2 separate regions of the Homo sapiens genome follow, and region 1 is linked to region 2. The links are contacts of gene promoters, found by promoter capture Hi-C in blood cells and fetal thymus (Javierre and others, 2016). All regions are on one chromosome and are shown on one strand. The core of a region is centred on a gene start or on the middle of the fragment in contact, and the rest is flanking DNA. Distances in the headings are between cores, read along the strand shown.

The links. Contacts are between HindIII fragments. The CHiCAGO score rates a contact against its expected background, and 5 or more counts as called.
Region 1: a fragment that was not itself captured here is called in contact with the fragment with the promoter of MYO1F in region 2 in 1 of 17 cell types (M2 macrophages); the score reaches 5.0 in M2 macrophages.

Annotation. Positions count from the first base shown.
Region 1 is chr19:9,071,240-9,079,110 of GRCh38, reverse strand. No RefSeq gene overlaps it. Among named protein-coding and RNA genes, the nearest start is that of MUC16, 9.4 kb to the right of the region's middle. RefSeq lists enhancers at 4,123-5,010, 7,869-7,871. The HindIII fragment of the contact is 5,674 bases long and covers 3,776-7,871 here.
Region 2 is chr19:8,573,612-8,581,022 of GRCh38, reverse strand. It overlaps MYO1F (myosin IF), which reads left to right and starts at 3,581. Exons shown (of 28, transcript NM_012335.4): 1 at 3,581-3,716. The coding sequence starts at 3,714. ADAMTS10 (ADAM metallopeptidase with thrombospondin type 1 motif 10) reads left to right here. Exons shown (of 26, transcript NM_030957.4): 26 at 21-783. The coding sequence ends at 130. RefSeq lists silencers at 194-243, 2,055-2,249, 3,470-3,619, 4,157-4,206 and enhancers at 4,327-4,506, 4,677-4,736, 5,077-5,136. The HindIII fragment of the contact is 24,150 bases long and covers 1-7,411 here.

The DNA of each region.
Region 1 (7,871 bases), core at 5,363-7,862, 500 kb before region 2:
ATCACACCATTGCACTCCAGCCTGGGCAACAAGAGCAAAACTCCGTCTCAAAAAATAAATAAATAAATAAATAAAAAGAAAAGAAAAATGAAAGAGAGAGACAGAGGGAGCGCTACAGAGAGAGACAGAGACAGAGAGATACTGCAGTTATGCAAGAAAAAGAGAGAGGGAGGGAAAGAGAGACAGAGAGATACTGTGACAGGCCAGGTCTCACTAACACAGGCCTCTCTAACAACTGTTTCAGCACTGACTGCGTGGTTAAGTTAAATATTTAAAGATGATAGCGCCAGTGCCCTTAGACAAAGGCTGGAACGTAACAAAAGCACACCAAGAGTTTTGCCCAGGCCTTTCCTGGGCCTTGAAGCATGACAAGATAATGAAGGAATTCTTAATGGACCTGTTTAGGATTAAACAAGTTTTATTGGGAGTCTGAAGAAACTCTCTAGACTCTAAAATTTAGCAGGAGACAAGATAAGGGTAACTATCCCTGGCACCTGGACCCATCTAGATTAAGTAAATTTACTGAGGCTCAGAGGAAGGTCTTCAGGACTCAGACCTTAGTTACAGATTAGGAGAAGTTAATTGGCCTGGTGCAGTGGCTCACGCCTGTAATCCCAGCAGTTTGGGAGGCCAAGGCAGGCAGATCACTTAAGGCCAGGAGTTCAAGACCAGCTTGGCCAACATGGCGAAACCCCATCTCTACTAAAAATACAAAAATTAACCAGGCATGATGGTGCACGCCTGTAATCCCAGCTACTTGGGAGGCTGAGGCAGGGGAATCGCTTGAACCTGAGAGGTGGGGGTTGCAGTGAGCCGAGATTGTGCCACTGCACTCCAGACTGGGTGACAGAGCAAGACTTCATCTCCAAAAATAAATAAATAAATAAATAAATAAATAAATAAAAATTAAACTACAAGCCAGGCACAGTGGCTCGCACCTGTAATCCCAGCACTTTGGTAGGCCGAGGTGGGGGGATCACCTGAGGTCAGGAGTTTGATACCAGCCTGGCCAACATGGTGAAACCCTGTCTCTACTAAAAATACAATAGCTGGGCATGGTGGTGCACGCCTAGATAATCCCAGCTACTCGGGAGGTTGAGGCAGAAGAATCGCTTGAACCTGGGAGGCAGAGGTTGCGGTGAGCCGAGATAGCGCCACTGCACTCCAACCTGGGTGACAGAGTGAGACTCTGTCTCGAAAATAAATAAAACTACAGCAGCCACAAGCACTGACAGAGTCAAGTATCAGGCACCCACAGGACAAGGTGGGACACAGTGTCTACTCATCTGCAGAGTGGGGACCAGGGCAGGATTGGGAGAAGAGAGCCAGGGTAAGGGGGAAGAAACAATATTGACAGAATAATTCTGAAAGATTCTCCCCGCGGCCTGAAAACTTGGGAGGATAAACTTGGGGGGATGAATAACTCCTCCCTTCTCAGGCCCAGTCCCAAGGTGCAAGGCTACTTGCCCCAGCAGCATGCGCCAGCAAGATAGCAGAAGCAGGAAGAGAGATGGCCGGAAGACATGTACCCTGGCCGGAAGACACGTACCCTGGCCGGAAGACATCTACCCTGGCCGGAAGACATCTACCCTGGCCGGAAGACACCTACCCTGGCCGGAAGACATCTACCCTGGCCGGAAGACATCTACCCTGGCCGGAAGACAGCTACCTTGGCCGGAAGACACCTGCCCTGGCCGGAAGACACGTACCCTGGCTGGAAGACATCTACCCTGGCCGGAAGACACATGCCCCTGAAGATCAAGAGACGGGCCATCCGGGTACCATGTAGCAGTTACGTCAGACTGGGACACTTGCTGTTTACGGGAGACTATAAAACCCCTGCCCCGTCCTCACTTGGGGCTGACGCCATTTTAGGCCTCAGCCGTCTGCACCCAGGTGCACATTAAAACAGCGTGTTGCTCCACACCAGCTCATGTTGTTTGTTGGCTTGCTCTCGGGGTTCGAAACGACACAAGAGCCTTACAAATTCCATGCTTGGCTCACTCGGCATTTCCTTAACAGATGTTCATTCAGTGCCTGCATGCTTGACAAGCCCCAGGTCTGAGAATACAACGGATCAGTGAATGAACCAACATGCAAAAATCCCTGACATTCTAGTGTTAAGAGTCTACAGGTAGAATAAATAAGTAAATTTAAAAAGATGTTAGATCCCTTTTCTTTTTGAGACAGGGTCTTGCTGTGTTGACCAGGCTGGAGTGCAGGGGCACAATCATAGTAAGGGAGGACACCACCCCTCATATTATGCCCAATTTCTGCCTCCAAAGAAAGAAGAAGTAAAAACTAAATGGCAGAAATCAAATCCATAGGCAGACAGCCCGGCACCGCACCCTGGGCCTGGTTAAAGATCGACCCCTGACCTAACCGGTTATGTTATCTATATATTCCAGATACCTCAAGGAAAAGGTAATTATTTGATTCAAGACCTTCAAAACGAGGCCAGGTGTGGTGGCTCACGACTGTCATCTCAGCATTTTGGGAGGCCAATGCAGTAGGATCACTTGAGGTCAGGAGTTCGAGACCAGCCTGGGCAACACAGCAAGAACCTGTCTCTTTTGAGTTTTTTTGTTTGTTTGTTTGTTTTGTTTTTGAGATGGAGTTTTGTTCTTGTCGCCCAGGCTGGAGTGCAATGGCATAATTTCGGCTCACTGCAACCTCCACCTCCTGGGTTCAAGTGATTCTCCTGCGTCAGTCTCCTGAGTAGCTGAGACTACAAGCGTGCACCACTACGCCTGGCTAATTTTTTTGTATTTTTAATATAGACGGGGTTTCACCATTTTGGCCAGGCTGGTCTGGAACTCCGGACCTCAGGTGATCCACCCACCTCGGCCTCCTAAAGTACAGAGATTACAGGCATGAGCCACCGCACCCGGCCAAGACCCTGTCTCTGAAAATAATTTTTAAAAATTAGCCGGGTGCCTACAGTCCCAGCTACTCAGGAGGCCAAGGTTGGAGGATCGATTGGGCCCAGGAGTTGGAGGCTACAGTAAACTATGATCGCATCACTGCCCTTCACCTAGGGGCAGAGTGAGACCTTGTCTCAAAGAAGAAAGACCTTCGAAAATGAAACAGGGAACCAGAAGGAGGGCAAGGTGGCAGCCAGGGCAAAATCCCTATGATGAGGGCATGCGGCTATGTGCAAGGAATTGCTCTGAGAATAAAGATGGGGACATTCTAGCCGAGCTAAAGAATGATCCATTTACTTATCATTGTAAGAAAATTGGAGCCGTTCCCAGAGATGACTAAGACCTAGGCCTGCAAAGTGTGAAGCCTGCAGGGAGGTGGGGGAAGGAGGCGAAGAACAAAGAACGCAAGGGGGGCCGAGTGAGTCATGGGCAGTGGGAACGGCGGTGCGGTGCATGGCTGGGTGCAGATAATTACCCTCGGGTAGCAGCCAGGCCCAGGTGGGGTGGGTGTCAGCAGGAGATGGACAGAGACCTCCCTCCGCTTCAGAAAGTAAAACCGGTGTTGCCCCAGCCTGGAACTCCCCCAGGAGAGTTGGAATCCTGCCCATCCCCTCCCCTCTTCCTCCAGTCTTTTCTTCCAGCTCAGGCCTGAGCTTTAAAAATCTTGCTTCCCAGCCACGGCCAAGACACGTCCCTGCCTCCCCCAGCAGAATGCAGATTTCAGGTGTCATTCATGAACTATTTAAGGGTTTCTGGAATGTTAGATTTGCCTGCTAGTCTGGGAGTCTTGGAGGGGGAGACCAGCTGTCACACGTCCTGCCCATGGCCGTGATTGGAGCACCCGGCAAGCTTAGGAGACAATGTTCACATGGACAGACTTTCTCTCTGAATGCCTTTGTCAGAGATGTTTAAACCAGAGTGACTCCATCTTGTGTAGGGGCTGGGTAAAATAAGGCCAAGACCTGCTGGGCTGTGTTCCCAGACAATTAAGGCATTCTAAGTCACAGGATGAGATAGGAGGTCAGCACAAGATGCAGGTCATAAAGACCTTGCTGATAAAACAGGTTGCAAAAAGAAGCCAGTCAAAACCCACCAAAACCAAGATGGCCCCAATAGTGACCTCTGGTTGTCCTCACTGCTACACTCCCATCAGTGTCACTGAGTCAGGAAAACAAGGTCTGGAGGCCAAGAATATAAGGTCGATTCACACTTCACCTATGGCAGGAAGGGCGGAAGCCAAGTCAATGACTGTAACCTTACTTCATCCTCTCCATTTACATAGGGCGTACCCCAAGTAAAGGGTATTTAAACTCCGAAAAATTCTGTAATGGGGACTTTGAGCCCCTATGCTCCAGCCCACTCCCACACTGTGGAGTGTGCTTTCATTCTCAATAAATCCCTGCCTCTGGCTGGGGCGCGGTGGCTCACACCTGTAATCCCAGCACTTTGGGAGGCCGAGGCAGCCGGATCACCTGAGGTCGGGAGTTCACCTGAGGTTGGGAGTTCGAGACCAGCCTAACCAACATGGAGAAACCCCGACTCTACTAAAAAAAAATACAAAATTAGCCGGGCATGGGGGTGCATGCCTATAATCTCAGCTGCTCGGAAGGCTGAGGCACGAGAATCACTTGAACCCGGGAGGCGGAGGTTGCGGTGAGCCAAGATTGCACCATTGCACTCCAGCCTGGATGACAGAGGAAGACTCCGTCTCAAAAAAAAAAAAAAAAAAAAAAAATCCCTGCTTCTGCCTTCCTTGCTTTTGCTTTGTTGGTGTGTTTTGTCCAATTCTTTGTTTGGGATGCCAAGAACCTGGACACCTTCTACCAGTAACACCATGACAGTTTACAGATGCCATGGCGACACCAGGAAGTTACCCCAGATGCTCTAAAAAGGTGAGGCATGAATAATCCTCCCCTTCTTTAGCATATTATCAAGAAATAACCATAAAAATGGGCAACCAGCAGCCCTTGGGGCTGCTCTGTCTATGGAGTAGCCATTCTTTTATTCCTTTACTTTCCTAAAAACTTGCTTTCACTTTACAGACTTGCCTGAGATCCAAGAGCCCTCTCTTGGGGTTTGGATTGGGACCCCTTTCCTATGACACCTTGCGGCCCGGAAAGACTTTCTCTCCCAGTGCCCTGGGGTCAGGCACAGGGCCGCAGCTTTCCCATAGAGAGCCCAGGAATATTTGCATTACCAGGAGAGAGTCAGGTTTCAGCGAGAATCTGAGGAAAATCCTCCAGAGAGTATCTAAAACGAGGTGAGGAAAGGGGAAAAGGCATTTTCCTTTAGGACGAACCTGAATTCCTTAGGATACAGCTGGTGAACAATAACATCTGTAACTCCCTCCTAGGTTTTTCAAAGGGAAGGAAGGAAGGTAGAAGGCCCTCTTGAGAAATGTCTTTTTTTTTTTAAGGGACCAGGTCTCCCTCTGTTGCCCAGGTTGAAGTACAGTGGCGCTATCATAGCTGACTGCAGCCTTGAACTCCTGGGTTCAAGCAAATCCTCCCACCTCAGCCTCCCAAGTAGCTAAGACTACAGGCAAGTGATTCTCCTGCCTCAGCCTCTCAAGGATTGCAAGCACCAGCCAAAAAGCCCAGCTAATTTTTGTATTTTTTGTAGAGATGGGGTTTCACCATATTGGCCAGGCTGGTCTCGAACTCCTGACTTCAGGTGATCCACCCTCCTTGGCCTCCTAAAGTGCTGGGATTTTCCCTTAACAAGCATCTATGGGTCGGGCGCGGTGGCTCACACCTGTAATCCCAGCACTTTGGGAGGCTGAGATGGGAGGATCACTTGAGCCCAGGACTTCAAGTTCATCCTGGGGAACATATATAGTGAGATTCGGTGTCTACAGAAAACTTTTTTTTTTTTTTTTTTTTAGACAGAGTCTCACTTTGTCGTCCAGGCTGGAGTGCAGTGGCACAATCTTGGCTCATTGCAATCTCTGTCTCCCAGGTTCAAGAGATTTTCCTGTCTCAGCCTCCCAAGTAGCTGGGATTACAGGCGCGCGCCACCACCCCCAGCTAATTTTGTATTTTTGGTAGAGACGGAGTTTCACCATGTCGGCCAGGCTGGTCTCAAACTCCTGACCTCAGGTGATCCGCCCGCCTCGGCCTCCCAAAGTGCTGGGATTACAGGCATTTGCCACTGCACCCGGCTTCTACAAAAAAATTTAAAAATTAGTCAAACGTGATGGCACATACCTATATAGTCCCAGCTACTTGGGAGGCTGAGGTGGGAGGATGGCTTGAACCCAGGAGGTAGAGGCTGCAGTGAGCCACTGCACCCCAGCCTGGGCGACAGAATGAGATCCCATCTCAAACATATAACCATAAACTTTGGATGTTAAGCATTTGCTGGAAAAAAAGAAAAAAGATAAATTAAAACAAAAAAATCCCCCATAAACTAAATGCCATGATATTTAAATACAAATCAAGTAATTCTGATGAAAGTTATGGCCAAGACATTTTACATTCTTTTTTTCAAAATCAGTCTTCAAAATCTCATCTCATGTGTATTTTACATGCACCACACATCTCTTCTGGTTTTTGTTTTGTTTTGTTTTGTTTTTGAGACAGAGTCTCTCTCTGTTGCCCAGGCTGGGGTGCAGTGGCACAATCTCAGCTCACTGCAACCTCTGCCTCCCGGGTTCAAGCGATTCTCCTGCCTCAGCCTCCCAAGTAGGTGGGATTACACACATGCGACACCATGCCCAGCTAATTTTTGTATTTATAGTAGAGATGAGGTTTTGCCATGTTGGTCAGGCTGGTCTCCAACTCCTAACCTCAGGTGATCCACCCACCTTGGCCTCCCAAAGTGCTGGGATTACGGGCGTGAGCCACCGTGCCCGGCCATAATAATACTTTTTTTTTCATTAAAAAAAAAAAAACTAAAAACAAGAAGGCTGGGCACGGTGGCTCATGCCTGTAATCCCAGCACTTTGGGAAGCTGAGGTGGGCAAATCACGAGGTCAGGAGTTCGAGACCATCCTGACCAATATGGAGAAACCCCATCTGTATTAAAAATACAAAAATTAGCCAGGCGTGGTGGCACGCGCTTGTAATCCCAGCTACTCGGGAGGCTGAGGCAGGAGAATCACTTGAACCTGGGAGACGGAGCTTGCAGTGAGCTGAGATTGCGCCACTGCACTCTGGCCTGGGCGACAGAGCGAGACTCTGTCTCAAAATAAATAAATAAGAAAAAAGAAAGAAAAATGAGGCTCAGAGAGGTTAGGTGACTTCCCCAAGGTCACACAGCAGGATGGAAACCCACACCTTCCTGTCCCTTGTCCACTCCCCTAGGCTTTGTGCCTCACTGGCTTCAGGGAGAGCAGCCATGTCATAAAACAGGTTCTGCCATGGGCCCTCAGCCTGGTTGTCCATGACACCAGCACTGACTGGAGGCCTGGTTCTCTGAGCCCCAGTTTGCTTTCGTGCAAAATGACTTTGCAATAGGCTGTGCCTTCCCTCGGGTATGGTGAGAAATTAAATTGTTAAATAAATTCCCAGGAATAAGGACAGGAAGTGTAGAGTTTCTTTCTTTTCCTTCTTTTTTTTTTTTTTTTTTTTTTTTTTTTTTTCTGAGATGGGGTTTCACTCTTGTTGCCCAGGCTGGAGTGCAATGGTGCGATCTTGACTGGTCTGGTCTGATGGTCTGGGTGGTGTCAGCTGATCCATCGAGTGCAGGGTCTGCAAACTATCTCAAGCACTGATTTTAGGTTTTACAATAGTGATGCTACCTCTGGGAGCAATCTGGGGACGTTCAGACTCTTGGACCCAGAGGCTGCATGACTCCTAAACTGTAATTTCTAATCTTGTAGCTAATTTGTTAGTCCTGCAAAGGCAGACTGGTTCCCAGGCAAGAAGTGGGTCTTTTAGGGAAAGGGCTGTTATCAGTTTTGTTTCAGAGTCAAACCATCAGCTGAATTCCTTCCCAAAGTTAGTT
Region 2 (7,411 bases), core at 2,332-4,831:
TCCTTCTCCCGTCCCCGCAGAGTGCAAGGATGTGAACAAGGTCGCCTACTGCCCCCTGGTGCTCAAATTTCAGTTCTGCAGCCGAGCCTACTTCCGCCAGATGTGCTGCAAAACCTGCCATGGCCACTAGGGGGCGCGCGGCACCCGGAGCCACAGCTGGCGGGGTCTCCGCCGCCAGCCCTGCAGCGGGCCGGCCAGAGGGGGCCCCGGGGGGGCGGGAACTGGGAGGGAAGGGTGAGACGGAGCCGGAAGTTATTTATTGGGAACCCCTGCAGGGCCCTGGCTGGGGGGATGGAGAGGGGCTGGCTATCCCCCCAGAGCCCCTCTTCAGCATCCGCCCCTTCCAGTTCACATAGTGAGACCCCCCCTCCAGGGTGGGTCTGGGGAGGGGACAGCTGTTCACCCCAGCACCCTTTGAACCCACCCTTAGGGAGTCCCCAACACTCCCCCCCTCCTTTGATCGGAATATGTACTGTGAAGAGTAGGGGTGGGGAGGTGGTCTGCCGGTGCCCTGCCCCCCAGCACTGCCCTACCCCTCCACTCCGAGCTGGGGGGGAATCTGTGTCTGCTATGGGAGGGGGGGGGGTAGCACCACCTCCCTGACACCCTCCCCTGACCTGACTAGGGGGAGGATCCACCCCAACCTCTGCCCTGCCCGCCCCAGGGGCACCCCGACATCCAGGCCACCCCCTCATGGTGCTACAGACCCTGCCCTGGGGCCCACACACTCCTGCCAGGAAGCCCTACATCAATAAAGTTCTGTCTTGTGTAGATTTCTACGAATTGCGGTGTGTGTGTGTCAGTGCATCCAGTAGCCCCCACCCAGGTCTGGAAAGGACCACCCATTCTCCCAGGTCTACCCAACAGCCAAAAGGGGACTTCTTTTTTTTTTTTCCTGAGACGGTCCCTGTCGCCCAGCTATGCCTATCATAGCTCACTGCAGCCTTGATCTCCTGGACTCAAGTGATCCTCCCACTTCCACCTTCTGAATAGCTGGGACTACAGGCGTGCACGACCACACCCAGCTGATTTATTTATTTTTTTTTTTTATTTTTTTTTTTTTTTGAGACGGAGTCTTGCACTGTTGCCCAGGCTGGAGTGCAGTGGCACGATCTCGGCTCACTGCAAGCTCCGCCTCCTGGGTTCATGCCATTCTCGCCTCAGCCTCCCGAGTAGCTGGCACTACAGGCGCCCGCCAACATGCCCAGCTAATTTTTTGTACTTTTTTAGTAGAGACGGGGTTTCACCGTGTTAGCCAGGATGGTCTCGATCTCCTGACCTCGTGATCTGCCCGCCTCGGCCTCCCAGAGTGCTGGGATTACAGGCATGGGCCACCGTGCCCAGCCAGAAGGGGACTTTTAACATTGCAGACAGGAACCCAGGGATTTTAGGAGAAAAGTACAACAGCTTCTCGTGGAAGGGTTTTGCTTTTTTGTTTTTGTTTTTTGAGACAGGGTCTCACTCTGTAGCCCAGGCTGGAGTTCAGTGGCACGATCTCAGCTCACTGCAGCCTTGAACTCCTGGGCTTAAACGATTCTCCTGCCTACCCTGCCAAGTAACTGAGATTATAGGTGCAACAGCACACCTAGCTGATTTTTTAATTTTTTGTAGAGACGAGGTCTTGCTATGTTGCCCAAGCTGGTCTGGAACTCCTGGGCTCAAGCGATCCTCCCACCTCAGCCTCCCAAAGTTCTGGGATTACAGGCATCAGCCACCATGCCTGGCCCTCACAGAGGCTCTTAAAGCCACACGGTCTAGCACCTGCCACCCTGGCCATCACACTCTCCGTCACTCCGCATGCTCCAGCCACACCAGCCTCCCCGAACTTCCTCAATTGCCCTATGGTTTTCCCATATCTGGGCCTTTGCTTGAGCGCTTAGCATGGCCAGGTGCACGCTCCTGCCCCTTTACCTTTTTTAACTCCAGCTTACTCGCCGGTGTCAGCACAAACGTTGCCTCTTCCTAGAAGCCTCCCCTGATGGCCCCCAACAAAGTGGGGTCCTCTTACCCATTCATATTCACTCTTGAGTGCCTGGAGACATTGCTGAGAATTGCATGCCCCAAGCCCGTCAATTCTGCAAACTCGCTCAGGAGATTCCAGCAGAGACGGGCTCCTTCCCAGCTGTGGCCACTAGGGGCGCTGCATATTAACATCTTCAAGGGGGATGCGGGTTTATCGCCCTGGACCAAAGATAGATCTGAACATGGGTCCCCCAGGGTCTCCCAGGGTCGGGTCCTGCCTCGGCCACCTCCTTGCTGGGTGGTGTGGGGAAGTAACAACCTATTAGAACTGCCATTTCCTCACATGTCAAGAGGAGCCTCAGGTGGTTGGCTGGTGTCCCAAAGACCAGCTCATAGGCTGACACGTACCTGGGCCAGGCTCTGCTGGGGGGACCCACGTTCCCATTTTACAATGAGAAAAGGGAGTAACTAAGTCATCCAGGAAGTAGCCAAACTGGAGGCTGTTAAATCTAGATGTGACATCCAAAGTCAGGGACCTTTCAGATGCACCTGCTTCCCAGTACCCTCCACTTCTGCACACAAACACGTGTGACTTCTGAGGGTCATCTAAAGAGGGAGGTTGGGCCAGGCGTGGTGGCTTATGCCTGTAATCCCAGCACTTTGGGAGGCCGAGTTGGGAGGATCACCTGAGGTCAGGAGTTCAAGGCCGGCCTGGCCAACATGGCGAAATTCCGTCTCTACTAAAAATACAAATATTAGCCAGGTGTGGCGGTGGGCACCTGTAATCCCAGCTACTCAGGAGGCTGAGGCAGGAGAATCGCTTGAACCCAGGAGGCGGAGATTAAAGTAAGCTGAGATTGCACCACTGCATTCTAGCCTGGGTGACAGAGCTAGACTCCGTCTCAAAATAATAACAATAATAATAATGAAGGAGGTTGCCCAGGGATGCCCAGAGCAGACACAGCTGAAGAAGGCACCCTTCCCTGTTGTTGTTGTTTTTTTGGTTTTTTTGTTTTTTCTGGTTTGTTTTTAGAGACAGGGTCTCACTCTTTCGCCCAGGCTGGAGTGCAGTGGCGCAATCAGGGCTCACTGAGGCCTCCACCTCCCAGGTTCAAGCAATCCTCCCACCTCAGCCCTCTGAGTAGCTGGGACTGCAGGCTCATGCCACCATGCCCAGCTAATTTTTTTTCTTTTCATTTTTTGTAGAGATGGGGTCATGCTATATAGCCCAGGCTGGTCTCAAACTCCTGGACTCAAGCGATCCTCCAACCTTGGCCCCCCAAAGTATTGGGATTACAGGCGTGAGCCACCTCCCCTGGGCCCCTTCCTTGGTTTTAAAAAGAGACCCGGGAAGCCCAAATGCTTCCTGAATCGCCCTGAAAAGAGGTGGTTCGTCCTGCAGCCAGCTGACCCAAATGTTCCTGCAGCAGCCCTGTCCCCAAGGAGTTGGGGAAGAGGCCTCTGAGGTCCAGTAGTGGCTGCCATCAAGTTCTGACCCCTCCCTTCAGGCTCAGAGCCCCAAACAGCCAGCTCCCCGCCCCCCTCCACACCCAGCTTCCCTCCCCCATGGCCTCGGCCCCTCCCGCCAAAGGAAGTGAGAAGGGGCTGTTGTAAGAGGAACTAAAGCCGGGAGTCCGGTGAACGGGCAGAAGCAGGGCCATGCCCAAGCCACCCCCAAGATCCCCCTGAACCTGCACCTCCATCACGACCCATTCAGGAGCCTCCAGGAGCCCAGACACCAGCCCCCCACCATGGTAAGTCCTTCAAGGGTGGGATCTGGAAGAAGAAAGAGGAGGGACACCAGCCAGGTGGAGGTGTCCTAAAAATGACCATCAGAAATTGGGGTGAGGGGAGGGGCATGGTGGACTTCTGTGGGGGTGGGGTGTCTCTCAGTGCAGCTCAGGTGCCTCCAGCATCCCTTACCAGGGAGCAAGCTCCCATCTGTAGGTGGTGGGGATGCCAGGGTGGTATCCCTGGATCCAAGGATAGGGCAGGACCTGGAAGACAGAAGGTGGCCCAGGGAGAATCACAGAGTCTGCAGGGACAAGGACATAGCCTCCTTTGCTTGCAAATTAAGGGAGCCCTTTCCCAGTCCAGCCCAGTCTCTCGTCTCCCTGTGTAGCCTTGGGCTAGTCACTTCCCCTCTCTTGGCCCCGGTTCCCACAGATGTCATATTTGGAAATCCGTCTAGATGCGGAAGTTGCTCTTCAGGGGTCTTTCAGTTGCAACATTCTCAAGGTCTGTGGGTTCTGCCACAGAGTCCTCGGCTGAGATGGGAAGCTATGTCTAACAAGCGATGGGGTGGATTGACGCCCTCCCTGTGCCGGTGACGGGCGGTATGGCTGCAGCAGAGGCAGGAGAGGCTGAATACGTCCATGCCACCCTTTGGTGGGCATCCCTTATCCCAAGAGGAGGATGGCAGCCAGAGGTGTTGCTGCCTGTCAAGTCTGAGGTCTGTCGATGATAGCAACGGGGAGACTGTCGTGATCATGGCGCTATTCCTAGCAGTATCGTACCACCATAAGACGCAAAGTAAGAGGTGGCCAGGGCTGACCCCACCCCACAGCTCTCTGCTGTGTAGACCACTTCAGCTTTCATTTCTCGTCATTCAGTCAGTGAGGATGAGAGCATGTGGCTGTGACAGCGGCCACTGCAGGATTCTTGGCAGGTACAGCTTACTAGGGTGGAGTCAGGGACATAGGGCAAGAGGCAGAGGTGGTGTTAGTCTGAGAGACAACACCTTCTTTCAGGAAGCCAGTGAGGGCCAGGGACAGTGGCTCATGCCTGTAATCCCAGCATTTTAGGAGGCTGAGACAGGTAGATCACTTGAGGTCAGGTGTTCGAGACCAGCCTGGCCAACGTGGTGAAACCTCGTCTCTACTAAAAAATACAAAAAATTAACTGGGCGTGGTGGCACACGCCTGTAATCCCAGCTACATATGAGGCTGAGGCAAGAGAATAACTTGAACCCAGGAGGCGGAGGGTGCAGTGAGCTGAGATCCTGCCGCTGCACTCCAGCCTGGGTGACAGAGCACACTCCGTCTCAAAAAAGGAAAGCTGATGAGAAATTGGGCATCCCGGAATTCACACCCAAACCATCAGCTGGAGCTCTGAGACTGTTGGGGTGGGAATTCTTCCAAGATGAGAAGCAAGCCAGGGAGGCTCAGGTCCTGGGATGGGCAGGGCTTTGATCAAAAGAACACAGGAAGTGATTTGCTACTTGAAAGAAAGGCAACCCCTCCCCAAGGAAGCCCTCTGAAAATGCTTAGTCAACAGTCGGCTTGGCAGACAAGGTCTGGGAGGGGCCACCCGTATCGCAGAGGATGATAGAAGAGAAAAAAATGACACCCACCTCTGTCTGGGGATGCTGAAATCTTCCTGGAGGAGTGGTGAATGCCAGGAAGATCGCTGAAGGATTCAATGAAACAGTATTTCTGAAGTCCTTTACAACAGGGTCCCCAACCCCCGGGGTCATGGACTGCTATCGGGCCATGGTCTGTCTGTTAGAAACCATGAGCCCTATCGGGTCACAGAGCAGGAGATGAGTGGCAGGCAAGCAAGCCCGAGCTCCACCTCCTCTCAGATTCTCGGGGGCGCCATTAGATTATCACAGGATCGCAAACCCTGTTGTGAACTGCACACACGAGGGATCCAGGTTGCATGCTGCTTATGACAATCTAATGCCCGGCCGGGTGCGGTGGCTCACACCTGTAATCCTAGCACTTTGGGAGGCCGAGGCGGGCAGATCACGAAGTCAAGAGATAGAAACGATCCTGGCCAACGTGGTGAGACCCCGTCTCTCCTAAAAATACAAAAATGAGCTGGGTGTGGTGGCACATGCCTGTCATCCTAGCTACTCGGGAGGCTGAGGCAGGAGAATCGCTTGAACCCGGGAGGCGGAGGTTGCAGTGAGCCAAGATCACACCATTGCACTACAGCCTCGGCGACAGAGCCAGACTCCGTCTCAAAAAAAAAAAAAAAAGAAAAAGAAAATCTAATGCCGTTGGCAGGGTGCAGTGGCTCATGCCTGTAATCTCAACACTTTTGGAGGCCGAGGTGGGCGGATCACCTGAGGTCAAGAGTTCAAGACCAGCCTGGCCAACATGGCAAAACCCTGTCTCTACTAAAAATACAAAAATTAGCCAGTCGTGGTGGTGCGCGCCTGTAACCCCAGCTACCCGGGAACCTGAGATAGGAGAATCACTTGAACCCAGGAGGCAGAGGTCGCAATGAGACGAGATCACGCCACTGCACTCCAGCCTGGGCCACAGAGAGAGGCTCCATCTCAAAAAAAAAAGAAAGAGAGAGAGAAAGAAAGAAAGAAAAAGAAAGAAAGAAAGAGAAAGAAAAAGAAAGAAAGAGAGAAAGAGAAAGGAAGAAAGAAAGAAAGAGAGAAAGAAGAAAGAGAAAGAAAGGAAAGAAAGAAAGAAAGAAAGAAAGAAAGAAAGAAAGAAAGAAAGAAAGAGAGAGAGAGAGAGAGAGAAAGAAAGAAAGAAAGAAAGAAAGAAAGAAAGAAAGAAAGAAAGAAAGGGAAAAAAGAAGAAATAAAGGAAAAGAAAGAAAAGAAAATCTAATGCCCCGCTCCATGGTCCATGGAAAAATTGTCTTCCATTAAACCGGTCTCTGGTGCCAAAAATGTTGGGGACCATTGCTTTACAGAGCACATAACATGCACTTGATCCATGGTAGCTGCCATTAGCTGGGATGTCCATTCATTTCTGGATTCAGCAATGAGGATGGACGGAGGTGACGATTGTGGTAATTGGGGAGGAGTTGCTGCGAGTGGTCATTGCTGGGTTGTTGGTGTCATTGGTTGTGGTGGTGGTTGTGGCTGTTTCTTGTTGCAGGTTCGTGGTGATAATGGCTCTTGCAGGTGGGCTGGTGGTGGTGGCGGTTGGTGTTTAATGTTGTTCGTTGGTGGTGGATTGTTTTCAGCTGGAAATTCTGGAGATGCTTGGTGACCAGTGGAATGATGACCATCGGTGGTTGCTGTTATTTGGAGAGGAAAGGTGTTGGTAGTAGCGTTCATTTGCTGCTGGTAGTTTATTGTTGGTTTCTGGTAAGATGATGATCAGCAATGGTGGTGCTGGTTCAATGTTGGGTTTTGAACAGGATAGGACTGGTGACTGCTGCTTTCTGTGGTTGCTAATGGTAGTTGGTTATGTGTGGTTGTTGATGGCTAGTATTGTTTTTTTGTTTTGTTTTGTTTCTGAGACAGAGTCTCGCTCTGTCACCCCGGCTGGAGTGCAGTGGTGCAATCTCGGCTCACTGCAACCTCCACCTCCTGGCTTCAAGCAATTCTCGTGCCTCAGCCTCCCAAGTAGCTGAGATTACAAGCACCTGCCACCACACCCAGCTAATTTTTGTGCTTTTAGTGGAGACGGGGTTTCGCCATGTTGGCCAGGCTGGTCTCCAACTCCTAACCTCAAGTGATCCACCCGCTTTGGCC